Regions from separate parts of the Homo sapiens genome. Here all the other regions are linked to region 4. The links are contacts of gene promoters, found by promoter capture Hi-C in human tissues and cell types (Jung and others, 2019). All regions are on one chromosome and are shown on one strand. Each heading gives the region's core, a stretch centred on a gene start or on the middle of the fragment in contact. The rest is flanking DNA. Distances are from core to core; before and after follow the strand shown.

The links. The method cuts DNA at HindIII sites, captures the fragments that hold promoters and counts their contacts. A contact is called where the count stands out against the background at its distance.
Region 1: a contact is called between a fragment that was not itself captured here and the fragment with the promoter of CYYR1 in region 4, in 2 of the 25 tissues and cell types used here (H1 embryonic stem cells and aorta).
Region 2: a contact is called between a fragment that was not itself captured here and the fragment with the promoter of CYYR1 in region 4, in 2 of the 25 tissues and cell types used here (aorta and dorsolateral prefrontal cortex).
Region 3: a contact is called between a fragment that was not itself captured here and the fragment with the promoter of CYYR1 in region 4, in 2 of the 25 tissues and cell types used here (H1 embryonic stem cells and mesendoderm cells).
Region 5: a fragment that was not itself captured here is called in contact with the fragment with the promoter of CYYR1 in region 4 in 3 of the 25 tissues and cell types used here (dorsolateral prefrontal cortex, mesendoderm cells and spleen).

The regions. Positions count from the first base shown.
Region 1 is chr21:26,652,028-26,654,727 of GRCh38, reverse strand. No RefSeq gene overlaps it. Among named protein-coding and RNA genes, the nearest start is that of CYYR1, 80 kb to the right of the region's middle. The HindIII fragment of the contact is 3,126 bases long and covers 1-2,700 here.
Region 2 is chr21:26,693,920-26,696,619 of GRCh38, reverse strand. No RefSeq gene overlaps it. Among named protein-coding and RNA genes, the nearest start is that of CYYR1, 120 kb to the right of the region's middle. The HindIII fragment of the contact is 5,627 bases long and covers 1-2,700 here.
Region 3 is chr21:26,485,548-26,488,247 of GRCh38, reverse strand. All of the region lies in intron 2 of CYYR1 (cysteine and tyrosine rich 1), which reads left to right. The region is part of intron 1 of CYYR1-AS1 (CYYR1 antisense RNA 1); the gene reads right to left. Among named protein-coding and RNA genes, the nearest start is that of CYYR1-AS1, 81 kb to the right of the region's middle. The HindIII fragment of the contact is 7,460 bases long and covers 1-2,700 here.
Region 4 is chr21:26,571,882-26,574,581 of GRCh38, reverse strand. It overlaps CYYR1 (cysteine and tyrosine rich 1), which reads left to right and starts at 1,296. Exons shown (of 4, transcript NM_001320768.2): 1 at 1,296-1,714. The coding sequence starts at 1,642. The HindIII fragment of the contact is 7,865 bases long and covers 1-2,700 here.
Region 5 is chr21:26,446,815-26,449,514 of GRCh38, reverse strand. All of the region lies in intron 1 of CYYR1-AS1 (CYYR1 antisense RNA 1), which reads right to left. Among named protein-coding and RNA genes, the nearest start is that of CYYR1-AS1, 42 kb to the right of the region's middle. The HindIII fragment of the contact is 3,875 bases long and covers 1-2,700 here.

The DNA.
Region 1 (2,700 bases), core at 180-2,679, 80 kb before region 4:
CTTGGATCCAACCCAATGTCCAACAATGATAGACTGGATTAAGAAAATGTGGCACATATACACCATGGAATACTATGCAGCCATAAAAAATGAGTTCATGTCCTTTGTAGGGATATGGATGAAGTTGGAAACCATCATTCTCAGCAAACTATCACAAGGACAAAAAACCAAACACTGCACGTTCTCACTCATAGGTGAGAATTGAACAATGAGAACACTTGGACACAGGAAAGGGAACATCACACACCAGGGCCTGTTGTGGGGTGGGGGGAGGGGGGAGGGATAGCATTAGGAGATATACCTAATATAAATGACGAGTTAATGGGTGCAGCAAACCAACATGGCACATGTATACATATGTAACAAAACTGCACGTTGTGCACGTGTACCCTAGAACTTAAAGTATAATAAAAAATATATACAAAAAGAAAAATATCCACATATAAGTGGACAGAGACCTGCACCCTTCAAATCTGTGTTGTTCAAGGGTCAACTGTCAATCTTAATCTCACTCTTCCATCTTCTGCTCCAGAATCCAGAGGATAAGAAATCCATGATGTAGCAGCATGCTGGGACATAAAGCAGGATGGGAATGGGTAAAAAGTGGGTCTAGAAGGATTAAATAGAAAATAATCCACACAATCACTACACCTGAAAATCGTAACCATGTGAAACAACAGGGCAGGCACACCAGGACAGATCTTTCAGTCCAATTTGAGCTCTAGAATATGGCATTCCAAAAGTGGGATGCTACAAATAGTCTCATTGAGAGTCAACTTGCACAATGTATTGTCCTACCCTTACATCAATTTCTGAAACAACTTCTCTTTGCACTTCCCCTGTAGTTACATGCATAATAAATTCTGACAACTCTTATGAAGTCATGGAATAACTTTCTTCTTATGTTTCCTATCAATGTCATTAGCCCTTTATCTTGTTTGAGTTTCCATCAGCAATGTTTTCAAGTCCCAAGATCATTCATGTATCCACAAGCAATGATACGCCAGATTTGGACAAATAATACTGAATACTATCTTATTTTCACTGCCATGATCAAGGCAGTGTGGATTGCTGCCAAGTCCAAGAGAAGTGAGGTCAGCAGCTGCAAGCCACCTCCGTCATTTAGAAAAGCTTCGTGATGTAGTGTGTCGTTTCGATGTGACACTGTCTCACAGAGTTAAAATGATGTGCAAGGAACTGTTCAATGGAAATTTAGAAATTTCTCTTTTTCTCAATTTTAGTGTAAGGAAAATGTCTGCTCAGTTAAAAAAAAAAAAAAAAAAGTAGTAGTGCCACCCAGTTTCAGGCAGAAATAGCTGCAGTAACACCCTTTTCTGACCAGAAAGATGAATTGCCTGTAACTATTACCACTTGAAAATTTTGGCCTAAATTTTCAGCTTTAATGTAGTATTTTTAAAAGCAGGAAAATCTTGTTCTACTGGAAATGTTCGTGCTTCTTCACTCTTCGGCAGAATATACTGCATCCAAGAAAAGAATTTATTTTTCTCCTTTAAAATTTCAAATCTCAGTGATTATGGGGAAAAAAATCTGTGTTGGGTGGTGCAATAAAGGCTTCACATAAGTAGGCAGCTGTAATATGTTTTAGGCACAGAAGCAAACTCTTCATGTTCTAGCAGCTAATTAAGATAAAGATTTGCTTGGCATGCAATTTTGCTTCCCTAACATCTTTTATATTGAAGTCACTCTGACTTAGAGAGCATCCTACATTTTAGTCACTGACCCATAAAGTACAAATGAAAGCTGGTAAAAGGAAAACAATCAGCATTCTGAATAACTCGCTGGGAAATGCCTCAAACTTGAAGGATGTTTTAATAATAATTCACCAATCAATTCCATTAGTCTTAAAGATGAGACAAGTACAAAGAGAAAATTTGAATTACACAGCTCCTCTTGCTACAATTTAAAGCTATTTTGAGCTAAGTTTAAACCTTTTGAAATGTAGTATCTTGCTGTCTTTGAGCCAGAAAAATGCAAGATACTAATAGTAAAACCCAATTAATAATAAACTATATTTCTGTGCTTCACATTTTTGCTCAAGTGATGCCCTTTATATCTCAATGCCATATTTTAACAGCTCTCTTTATTCAAAAAACCATGCCAAGCAAAGGTAATTTAAACTGCTTTTATCATGCAACCTTAACACCTAGTTTTTAAAAATAAGGATTTCTTAAAAAGTTTTTCATCCACTGTAGCCTTTTTTTAGTCACTATCTCTCTTAACATACTTATTTGTTCTACTCGTGCTTTACCTAATCCTAGCATGCTCTGCTAATGAATTTATTTGTTTCTGATCACTTTTTCAAATGACAGTTTTGTTTTTTTGTTTGGGAGATTTTGTTTGGGGTTTTTTGCATATATATTAATTTCCTGAGGCTGCCATATTAAACTGTCATATCAAACATATTCTATACCACAAACTTGGAGGCTTAAACAACGGAAATTTATGGCCTAACAGCTCTGGAGGTCAGAAGTCCAAGATGAAGGGTCAGCCAGGTTGGTTCTTCTGAGGACTGTGAGGGGAAATCTGTTCCTTGCCTCTGCCTTAGCTTCTGGTGGTTTGCAGGCAACCTGACATTCCTTGGTTTGTAGCTGTATCATCTCCATCTCTGCCTTCATCTTCCCATGGCATTCTTCCTGTGTGTATGTCTTTGTCCAAATTTCTCCTTTTTGTAAAGGCAAC
Region 2 (2,700 bases), core at 99-2,598, 120 kb before region 4:
AATTCTTTCCAATGGGCAGAGCTATGAGCAGTGAACTTAAGCATTCACTTTTTGTGGAAAGAGAAGTAGCCCAAAGTGATAATATGTACAGATTTCCATTCAGTGGCCAATGTCCTGGATGTCTGGCCAAGGATTTGGAAGGAACAGAATTTGGAAGAGCGGAGACAATAAATTCTAAGGTATAGGTCCATGGTTGACATAGAAGAGTGAGACTGTCATACAACGTGTGAATTAAACCTTAGATATTATTTTTAATTTGCCATGTTGATCTACCTCTATCTGTTGAGCTAATCTGCATACCAAACCTGTGCAGGCCTAGTGAATAATTTAAAAGTTAGATCTTTGTTTCTCCTTCTACTTCTTTAGTCATGTCTAATGAAAAATTCCAAATATATAAAGTAGGAAGATGGAGTAAAGAAGCCAACTTTCTTTCTCCAAAATCTTTCTTCCTAAAAAAGTGATTAACTCAATATCTGATAGAACTAAATACGTGAGACATAAACTTTGATAGTTTATGGGAGCAGGTGAAAAGAATATAGCTACCTACAGTATTTTTATGCAAAATCCCCAAAAATACACAAATGTATGGTAATAATTCTAGAATTAGCAGTTTCAGATTTCAAGTTCAATAAATCCATTACTAAGTATCTCTTAATATCTGCTCAATTGTATATTCAAAGGATGTGAGGCCCCAGGAATATAAAACATGATCCCTGCCTCCAAGGCGCTTACAATCTCCTTGGGGAGATAAGACTGACACTTAGGAAGAAATGAAGAACAATATAAGACAGTAATCTCGTCATACTAGAGAAAATTCAGAATAGATACCCATTCTCTCTAGTGAATATGTAGCTTTCTGAAAGCAGAAAGCTTAGAGGCTCTAAACAGGCCCCTTAGATGGGAAGAAACTTGAGGCTGAATCTTGATGATGATAAATTGATAAGATGCCCACAGGACTGGGAGAGAGACATTTTCTTCAGGGAACCGAGTGTGACATCTAACCATTGAGAACTACAGAAAATACAAGGGCACTTTGGCACCTCACACTCAGAGCATCCGGATGGTGGTACCCAAGTGCACCAGGGAACTTAAGGTTGGCAATGTCCAGTACAAAGCATTTAATTTCTGCCTTTAGAGGCAATCATTGGTATTCCTAAGCACCAGTTTGCAGTCTGGAGTCAACTGACTTATGATAGAGTTTGCAGAAGCTGACAGCCTGGTTAACTGACTCTCAGTAATCATTTTCTTTGGAACTTATCTGCCCCCAAACATCTGGTACTTCATTTTGCCTCCTCCAAAATGGATCTGAGTGGAGATGCTTGAAGTCCCTGGATTCCATGTTTGCCTACCAGCCAGACTGTCCGTGGCTGGGAGCATCTGCACCTGGAAAAGCTCTGTTGGACCTATCTCATTTCATTGTTGCTCATCACATACTCTTTCATCATACGAATAGTCACTATGGCCAGTTGAATTACCATAAGTTACAGTTAAATAATCTCAAGAACTCTAAATTATAATTTTAGGTTCTTTTGTCAACTGTTTCTTTTTTTTTTTTTTTTTTTTTTTTTTAAGACAGAGTCTTGCTCTGTCATCCAGGCTGGAGTGCAGTGGCTTGATCCCGGCTCAGTGCAACCTCCACCTCCTGAGTTCAAGCAATTCTCCTGCCTCAGCCTCCCAAGTAGCTGAGATTACAGGTATGTGCCACCATGCCTGGCTGATATTTGTATTTTTAGTAGAGACAGGATTTCACCATGTTGGCCAGGCTGCTCTTGAACTCCTGACCTTTTGATCCGCCCTCCTTGGCCTCTCAAAGTGCTGGGATTACAGGTATGAGCCACTATGCCCAGCCTATCAACTGGTCTTTATGACATATAGCAATTTAAAAAGCCAATTCAAACGTAAGTTTGAGTTGGGCATTGCCAGCACTTTTTATAGTCCTAAATTAACTGGAAACCAGTATCATACTAAATTGGCATTCTACCAAGTGTTAGCTTGCTGTATGATACGTCACTTGGGTAGCAAAAGGAGTGAAGAGGAAGAAATGTCACTATAATTGATTATTTACCTACTGTGCTTTTCTTTTATCATACCTACCTACTGTGCTTTTCTTTTATCATAACTTGATGAAATCAGAACAGAACCCGCCTATTTTACAGATGAGGAAATACGTACTCAGAAAAAAACTTTCCAAGTGTTGAAAGCCTGATTATGGAAGAGCCAGTTCACACCTCTGACAAAAAGATAATGCTACCATGTTGAGCTTGTGATTTTTAGTTGCCTAACAACATACCATTTTTAAAAATGCCTGTGCACGTTCAAAGCTTCTCCTCAGAGATCATAAGTGTTTCCAGGCAGCTGCCCTGAATGAAAAGCTTCCCAGAAAGTGAAAAATTTTTCATAAATGCATTAAACAGGAGCTGCAAGGCATTATACTCATATATATTTATGAGTAAATCTCATGTAAGCCAAAATAGATCATGGGTCATTTTCCATAAAATGGAAGAGAAAATACATTGAAATATAGCCATCTGGTTTTCCATCTCAGATACATTCCTGCAAAACTGAGCCCAAAGTTAAAACATACATGTTTTATATCAAGGCATCTTTCACATGTGGGTTTCAAGAAACTCTGACTAAGAGGAAAAATCCACTTTTGTTTCTCAGAGAAATGCTTTACATTACAGGCTACTTCACAACTAA
Region 3 (2,700 bases), core at 35-2,534, 86 kb after region 4:
AAGGAAGTAGGGGAAGATGTAGTCTTTATTTTAGTCAACCCTCAGACTTCTTTTATCAAGGAAAATGTAGAAAATGAATATTGGGTTACACAATTGTCTCTGTCATGGGGCTTGAGTCAATAAATCACGTAAATTTATTCATTCAAAGAGATATTAGTTTCCAGTTTTATTATCATGAGGCTAACAGAAAGAAGTTATCTATAAAGCCCCAAGAAAGAGGATATATTGAGTGAAGTTATTAAGGGGAGTCACCAGAATGAAAGAAAAAAAAAAAGCAAAATAAAAAAACATTATTAGCATATTTGGATTTTACAGATTTTTTTTTTTTTTTGCAAGTAATGTAGACTTACTGGAAAAATTACATGGATTGGTCTTCCTACCCTCCTAAGCATTTTACACTTGGAGTAGTAACAATATTTAATAACAATTTAACTATTCGATATTATGGTTTTCTTATCTGATACACGTATACATAGATGTACATGTAACCAGACTCATAGAGATAAAAATAGAAATAGAGATAGTTCTGAGATCCTACGATTAATATAAGTAAATACTGTTAATATTGAAAATGATACTCCATTGAGTTTGTTTTTCTATTATTTTCTGTATTTATTTAAGCAACAGAGAAGAAAATGCATTATTTTTAAGTTAAGCAAGTCAAAGTGTTACTAAAATTGCCAATGATTTATAATAAAACATTGTATTCAAGGGTATTACAGTATTTTAATGAATTGGCCAAAAGAATGAATTATTGAGGAAGTAGGATGATCTGATATAGAATTTTGCCAAGATTTATTCTCATGTATGTAGTCGACTTTCAGCGCTGTAGTAGGAATAGGATTTTTATCATTGCTTAATTCATCTCATGTGTATCATCACAAATAAATAAGTCGACTAAATATTACCTTCTTTAACAAAAGATAAAAATGCTTTAGCTTCACTTATAATTTTTTTATTTTAATAAGAAATAAACCTACTTTAAGTTTATTCTTTTGAAGCTATGGTTACTTTTTCCAGAGAACTCTCTCTTCTGATACTTTTACCTTTGACTTATTTCAAAGGTAAAGGTATTTTATTTCAAACTCTTATTTCCATATGGAAGTTTATCCTAACAAAAATATTCTAGAATTTTCCCCACTTTTTGTATAGGTGTAAAATATCCGTGTGGTATCAAATATAGATATCAAATATCCGCATGGCCTTTTTAATTTTTCTACTTTATTGGGACTGCTGTTACTAAATTATTACATAGAATATTCATAAGCCCTTTGATTTATAGTTTTATAAAATGCATTTGTAAATTGGGTCGTATCCGAGAAGAAGATAAATATTACTCTGGCGTACTTTTCATATCTGCTATTTTCCTTAAATATTATTTAATATTAATAGTAAAACCACATCAAGATAACTAGTAAGCTGCTGTATAGCAGTGCTAAGCCTAAAAGTGTTACTGCAACATGGCAACATTATCAGAATCTTTTTTTACTCATGAAAAGCGATTTATGGAATAAAATATATTATCTCTGAGCTTTGTTATAAAAGACAGTTTCATATTATTTCAGCCACCATAGATACATTTAATATCTTGATTATAAAATCTCATTTTGCAAAAAAAGAAAAAAAAATTAGCTAAATTAGAACCTAGAAACAGTCCTGCACAGGCCAACTGATTTTTGACAAAGGTGCAAAAGCAATGCGATGGGGGGATGAGGAATGCTTTTAATAAATGGTACTGAAGTAGCTGGCTATCCACAGGCAAAATAATCTGGTAATAATGAACCTCAACCTAAATCTAATACCTCGTACAGAAATTAAACAAAAATAGATCATAGGTTTAAATATCAAATGTAAAATAATCAGTCTTTTAGAAAGAAGCATAGGAGAAAGTCTTCAGGACCTAGGGCTTCATGAAAAGTTCCCACGTATGACCCCAAAGCACAATCCATAAAAGAAAAAAAATGATAGATTGGACTTTATTTAAAAACTTTTGTTCTGTGAACGACCCTGTTGGGAGAATGAAAAGATGTGCTACAGACCAGTAAAAATATTCGCAAACTACATATTTTGTAAAGGACTCAAATAATTCTCAAAAACTCAACAGTAAAATAACCAAGCAATCCAATTAGAATATGGGCAAAAGACTCAGGTGGACATTTCACTGAAGAAGATGAATGGCAAATAAGCTTTCGAAAACATGTTCAACCTTGCTAGCCATTACGGGAATGCAAATTAAGGCCATGATGAAATACCACTACACTTAATGCTTTATCCGTTAAAACAGCTAAAAAACAGATTATAAAACTAGATACTGGCAAGGACGCAGAGAGGATCTCTCATACCTTGCTGGTAGGAATGTAAATAACTTGGAAGTTTCTTTAAAACTCAAACATACATTTATCGTACATCCCAGTAATTGCACTTCTGGGCATTTATTGCAGAGAAATGAATACTTATGTCCACACAAAAATCTGTACATGATTGTTTATAGCAACTTTATTTGTCAAACCAAAATGCCCTACAATAAATAATGGTTAAACAAAGTGTGTTATAGCCATATCATGGACTGCTTGCTCATCTAGGAATGAACTACTGATACATGCAGAAACTGGAATGGATTCCAAAGGCATTACGCTGAGGGAAAAAAGACTATCTCCAAAACTCACATGCTGTATGATTCCATTTGTATAATCTTCTTGA
Region 4 (2,700 bases), core at 47-2,546:
TCAGTATAATAATGAGATTAGGACTTTGCATTGCAAATATTTTTGCCAGTTAAATGTCTGCCAACTGGAAGTATTAATTCTTATTTAGTCAAGTTGGTCAATATTTTGTTTTATGGTTTCTGAGTTTTTTATAATGCTTAGAAAAGGCTTCCCTATTCCACAATTATTTGAATGTTATCCTCTTATTTTTTAATCTAATATTTTCATAGTTGTATCTTAAATATGTAATTCATATAGAACTGATTTTGATGTAAAAAGATAAGGCTCCACAGATGGCTATTTACGGCCTCAACACTTTTCACTGAGTAACTCATCATTTCCCCTACTACTTTACATTGATATTTCTTTAAACCATAAATTAAATTGCTGTACATACTCATGTCTACTTTTGGGTTACCTTTTCTCTTTCACTAAGCCTATCTATTCCAATGTTAATCTAAACTGTTTTAATTATTGTGATATTATATGTAATATCCCATTCATTATTCCCATTCATTACTCTTGTTTTAAATAGATATTCTTACATATTTATTTTCCATATAAACTTTAGAATCAGATTGGTTTGAAAAAAATCATGTTATTTTAAAAATTGGGATCAATTTTATTTCCAAATGTATATAATAATTTGGGGAATCTTGTTGTCTTTATCCTACTAAATTTTCTTAGTGAAAAAAGTATCTCTTTACTTATTCGTATCATTTTTTTTCCTTCATGCATAACATTGAGAACTTTCTGATTTTTGTTTGCAGGAAAGAAAACTATTGGTTTGCTAAACAAGAGCTTTATAGTTGATTAACTTTGATTTTCCATGTATACACGTATTTCATTTGCTAATGACAATTTAGCTTTCATTTTTCATAAATCTTTTTCTTTCTCTTGTTTAATTGCATAGGCCAGTAACTCCAAAACGTCAAAATCATAACGACAGTGTGCACTGTTGTGTTTTTTTTTTCTGAATTTACAGGAAAAAATAATAAACATTTTATCAGCTTTCAGCAGAGATGCCATACACTTTCTGTACTTCCCAATCCTGAGTTTTCTTCACTGTCACTCTTTGTCGAATACCTTCAACCCTGAAAATTCCTTCCCTTTGTTTAAAGATAAAAAGCAAAGTTGTTCATCCATTGCTTAGAAAGGAAAAATTGTAGTGGAGGCAAGGTTAAAAAGGAGCAGGCTGAACTCCATAGCAATCGCCAAAGCAAGGGGTTAGGAAAAGTTTCTTGGTCCCCTAGTCACTCTTTAGAAGGAAGAACCCGGGCTTGGGGAGGAGTCGGGGCCACCCCCGCCCCCTGCCCGCAGTCGTTGCCACCCGCGGAGATGAAATGTGAGCCTGGGTGGCCAAGGACGCCGGAGTGGCCGCCTTCCCCGCGCCTGAGCGCAGTGGGGCGAGACAAAGAGACCTGGGCCCCCAGCGCAGCCCGTCTCGGGCCACGGGCGCCCCAGCTCCGCGGAGTCCCGCAGTCGCTGGCCCGGGACGCGCCCGGCCCGGGCTCCCTTGGAAGGCTCCCTAGGCAATGGCCGGGTCTCTGCTCCACCCGGCTCTCAGGAGCGCTGCTCTCTCCATCTGATCGCCCTCCATCCTCCCCATTCCCTCCGGTTCCGGGCTCTCCCTTCGCTCCAAGCCTCAGGCCACCGGCTTGGATGGACGCTCCGAGGCTACCCGTGCGTCCAGGGGTCTTGCTTCCGAAGTTGGTCCTGCTCTTTGTCTACGCAGGTCAGTGACGGAGGGCGGCGGAGAGGGTCAGAGGCTCGGGGCTGCCCTTGGGTCACGGTCCGGGCTAACGTGGGTTGAGCTGGACGGACCGGGACCTTTGCAGAAGGACCTTTGCAGACGCTTCTGCCTTTTCCGCGAGGCGACGGCAGAAACCCGCGCACTTCCAGCCGCACGCGGTTTTGTTTTGTTCCTTTTCCTTTAACTTTTACCTTTTGCATTTCTTTTCTTTCCCTTTCCACCTTGGAAATAGCAGTCTCGTGTTTAGGGGATTTGACTCTCTGGATAGAGTAAACTATATCCAAATAAACTTATCTGGATAGGCTAGGCAGTGGCCTCTCCATCTTCTGCTTTCTAAATAGTCCTGGTTTTCCCTCTTGTGAATAAAAAAAACTTAGAGCTTTGTTTTCGTTCTTTGGGAGATTCACAAGTGTGGTAGACTGAGCTATTGGACTGAAGTCAAACACAAGGTTTTTGAGAAGCATGAATTCACCCAGGGTCTAATCTGTACAGGTTCGTTGATTTAGATAGACACTTGTTTATAAGAGAAGGGCATCTGGTTTCCCTTCTAATTATTCGTAGTAAGAACTGCTAATAATTAACGAAGCAAAGTGGGTTTTCTTGTTTGTGATTAATATGGAGCCCCAAATGGCCTTTCATTGGTTATTCAGGTATAAAGTGTCTTACACACGTGGTCTTTGCATCAGTTCATATTCACAAAACAATGCAAGCTAAAAGCAAAGTTCTTTGTAAAATGTTTTTGTGTCTCTAACGTCCTATGACAAAAATCGCAGGCTCACCCCTGAGCCTCCAATACGAAATGTATATATAGCACTGAAATTTACCTTTGATACTCAAAAAGATATTGCAACTGAAATGATGTTCTTCAGTGTTGCACCTGAGTATTAAAAGAATTGAATTTCTCATTCAACCTTGCTAGAAAAGAGTCACCATAACTTCTGTAGACATTTTTAGCCTGTTTATTGAAA
Region 5 (2,700 bases), core at 15-2,514, 130 kb after region 4:
TGAAGGAGCATGAGCAGCCTGCCAATGAACGACTGAAGTATCAGGAGGACCAGTTCCAAGCACCGTCTGCCTATCATTGACTCTATTATGTGCAATTTGACAAAGCTTTTGTTATCCTCTCCGCTGGAGCTATTTTTACATTGTAAGTTTGTGTAGCAATTTCTCTCTGGGTACTTTTCCATTGATTCTCACAACAAGCCCTTCTAAAAAGGAAACGCAAGCCAGATATGTTTCAACATGTGTTCAGTGGTAAGGAATGCTCAGTCATTTTAGAAGAGGGATGATGTGTGGAACAGGGAAACAACTCTCATTTGTCTATTAAAGACAACAAACTAAAAGGGAGTAATCTGACTTTCTGCTCAAGGACTCCACTGTGAATAGAGAGGCACAATAAATACAGGTTCTTCTAGCTTGTCTGAAAAGGTGATAGTAAAATGAGTTAATATAAATAATAAAATTAATACAGAGTAAGACGATAAAATGTAATAGAAAGTTTAACAGACTCTGGAGGCCCCTTGCCACGTCAGACTTAGTCCTGGAGTTTCTGCATAGTTGGGAGGTGGAAAATGGTCCCTGGGGAGGAGCCAGGGTAGAGTAGGAGAAGAATCTGGAGGACTGAGTATAGCACCTAACTGGTAAATGGTAAGAAATTATTCTCATATTTCAACAGGGGTACAGCCCCTCATTCCCAGGGTACGTCATCGATTTTTGCAGCTGATACTGAGACTAGAAAGCATGCCTTAAGTCAATGTTTCTCAGTGTATATTCCTTTAAGCTAGTGATTCTAAAATGTGTGTGTTTTGCTTTCCAAAGGATGTTTGGCGATGTCCAGGGGGCATTTCTGGTTGTCTCAACTTGGGGAGAAAATATCAGCGTCTAGCCGGTAGACATGAGAATCCTGCTAAAGATCCGACAGCTCCCACAATAAAAAATAATCTGGCCCAAAATGTCAATAGGGTCAAGCTGACAAACACTGCCTTAAGCATTATATATACAGTTACAATAAATTCTTCTAATTATTTTTCTTGACTGAATTTATTGATATTTCAATGACCAGAATAAATATTCTAATCCAAGAGGACACAACACAAAAATAACTTGGACACTGCTAATATCTATGCTTGTCATAATGTGAACTATATTCTTTTTGCTCTTGATAAAACACAGGAAACCTCAGGCTAACATCCTCAGATTAGTTCAGACATGCCATTGAAGAATTATGTTCTATTTGCAAAGTCAAAAATGCCATGCATGGATTCTTTCAGAAAGTCTTCACGTTCACAAAACATAGTAGTAAGTTATTTCCTGCAGAGGTCTTAGAAGATTAGACTGCTAACATGAACGTGTGAGATGAGTAAATTTTTTCACATGTAAAATTCCTGAGACAAGATGCTTAAAATTCCTGGGACAAGATGCTTTAGAAACCTTGACCTAAAGGCCATTGGTTCTTTGAATCCACTTCAGCGATTTGAATGTGTGTGTGTGTGTGGTGTGTGTACCAACAATCACAGATGTGACATTGCTGAAACATAGGTTTGCAAATGTGCAATGTGGCACCATTAGAGAGAAGCTTCCATCTATACTAAAAAGAGGAAGGCTCAAATGCTTCTTGAGAGGAAATGTTTTAATGTCCTAGAATTCAGTATTCTAGTATTTAGTATTCATTAGAAATAGCTATTGGAAACTAGGTATTTTTTCAGGGTGTATTTTAAGGAATAGTGAATTTTAAAAAGAAAAACGGTGTCTGCATGAGCAGACACCTGAGTAAAAGGTCCAAAGATATATTTTTTTCTAAGGATTATGTCAAAAGACCCATCCTATTCTTATTAATTGTCATCAATTTGTCAGTGGTACAATCTGAAGTTGGACAGTACTTTGTGACGAGCTTATCCAAGGCTAACTCCGTTGTGGATCAACCCAACATTCTTCGTGCTTAGGAGAAAGACTTTTGCACAATTTGGTTTTGTCCAAGTTATTCACAATACCAACAATGCATGTCCAGATACTTCACAAATTGGCACGTCTCAAAATAATGAGTTAAAAAAATGGCCATTTTAAATTATGTTTGCTCCTAGAATTTTTTAGCCATTTCCACAGGTGTAGAATTCCAGATGTAATAATCATCACTAGTTTTCATGACAAGGCATCAGCAGAAGGCAAGTTTACAAAAAGAAATCAGTCATACATTTTTTGATATATCAGGACATAAGTAAAAAAAAAAGTATAAACCAGCAACTTTCAACATGACCAAAATTTGAAAATTTCTACCACAATTTTCTCCAACCAAAGCCCGTTAATTTGCACAACAATGTGAATAGACTTAATACTACTGAATTCACATACTTAAAAACGATTAAAATGGTACATTTTTTGTTATGCATATTTTACGACAATAAAAAAAAATCCTACTAGCAACTACTAAGAAATGTCAGTCCATGGAGTAAATATTTTCAAAATGAGTCGCTTTCTAGAATCAGAAATGTATGAAAATTTGAATCTGTGCTAGAATTTCAGCATCAGTAACAGTTTCCTACCCCCTCTTTAACGCTCATGGTGCTATGCATACTCATACCAAAATGGTCCATGTGTTGAATGTCTCTTGTGCCTTTTCTCGTGTTCTTTTGGCTAAAAGTCTTTTAATGCAACTGTCACTCAACAACTACCTTATTATCACAGGTGTAGCCTCACAGCACCTTTCCT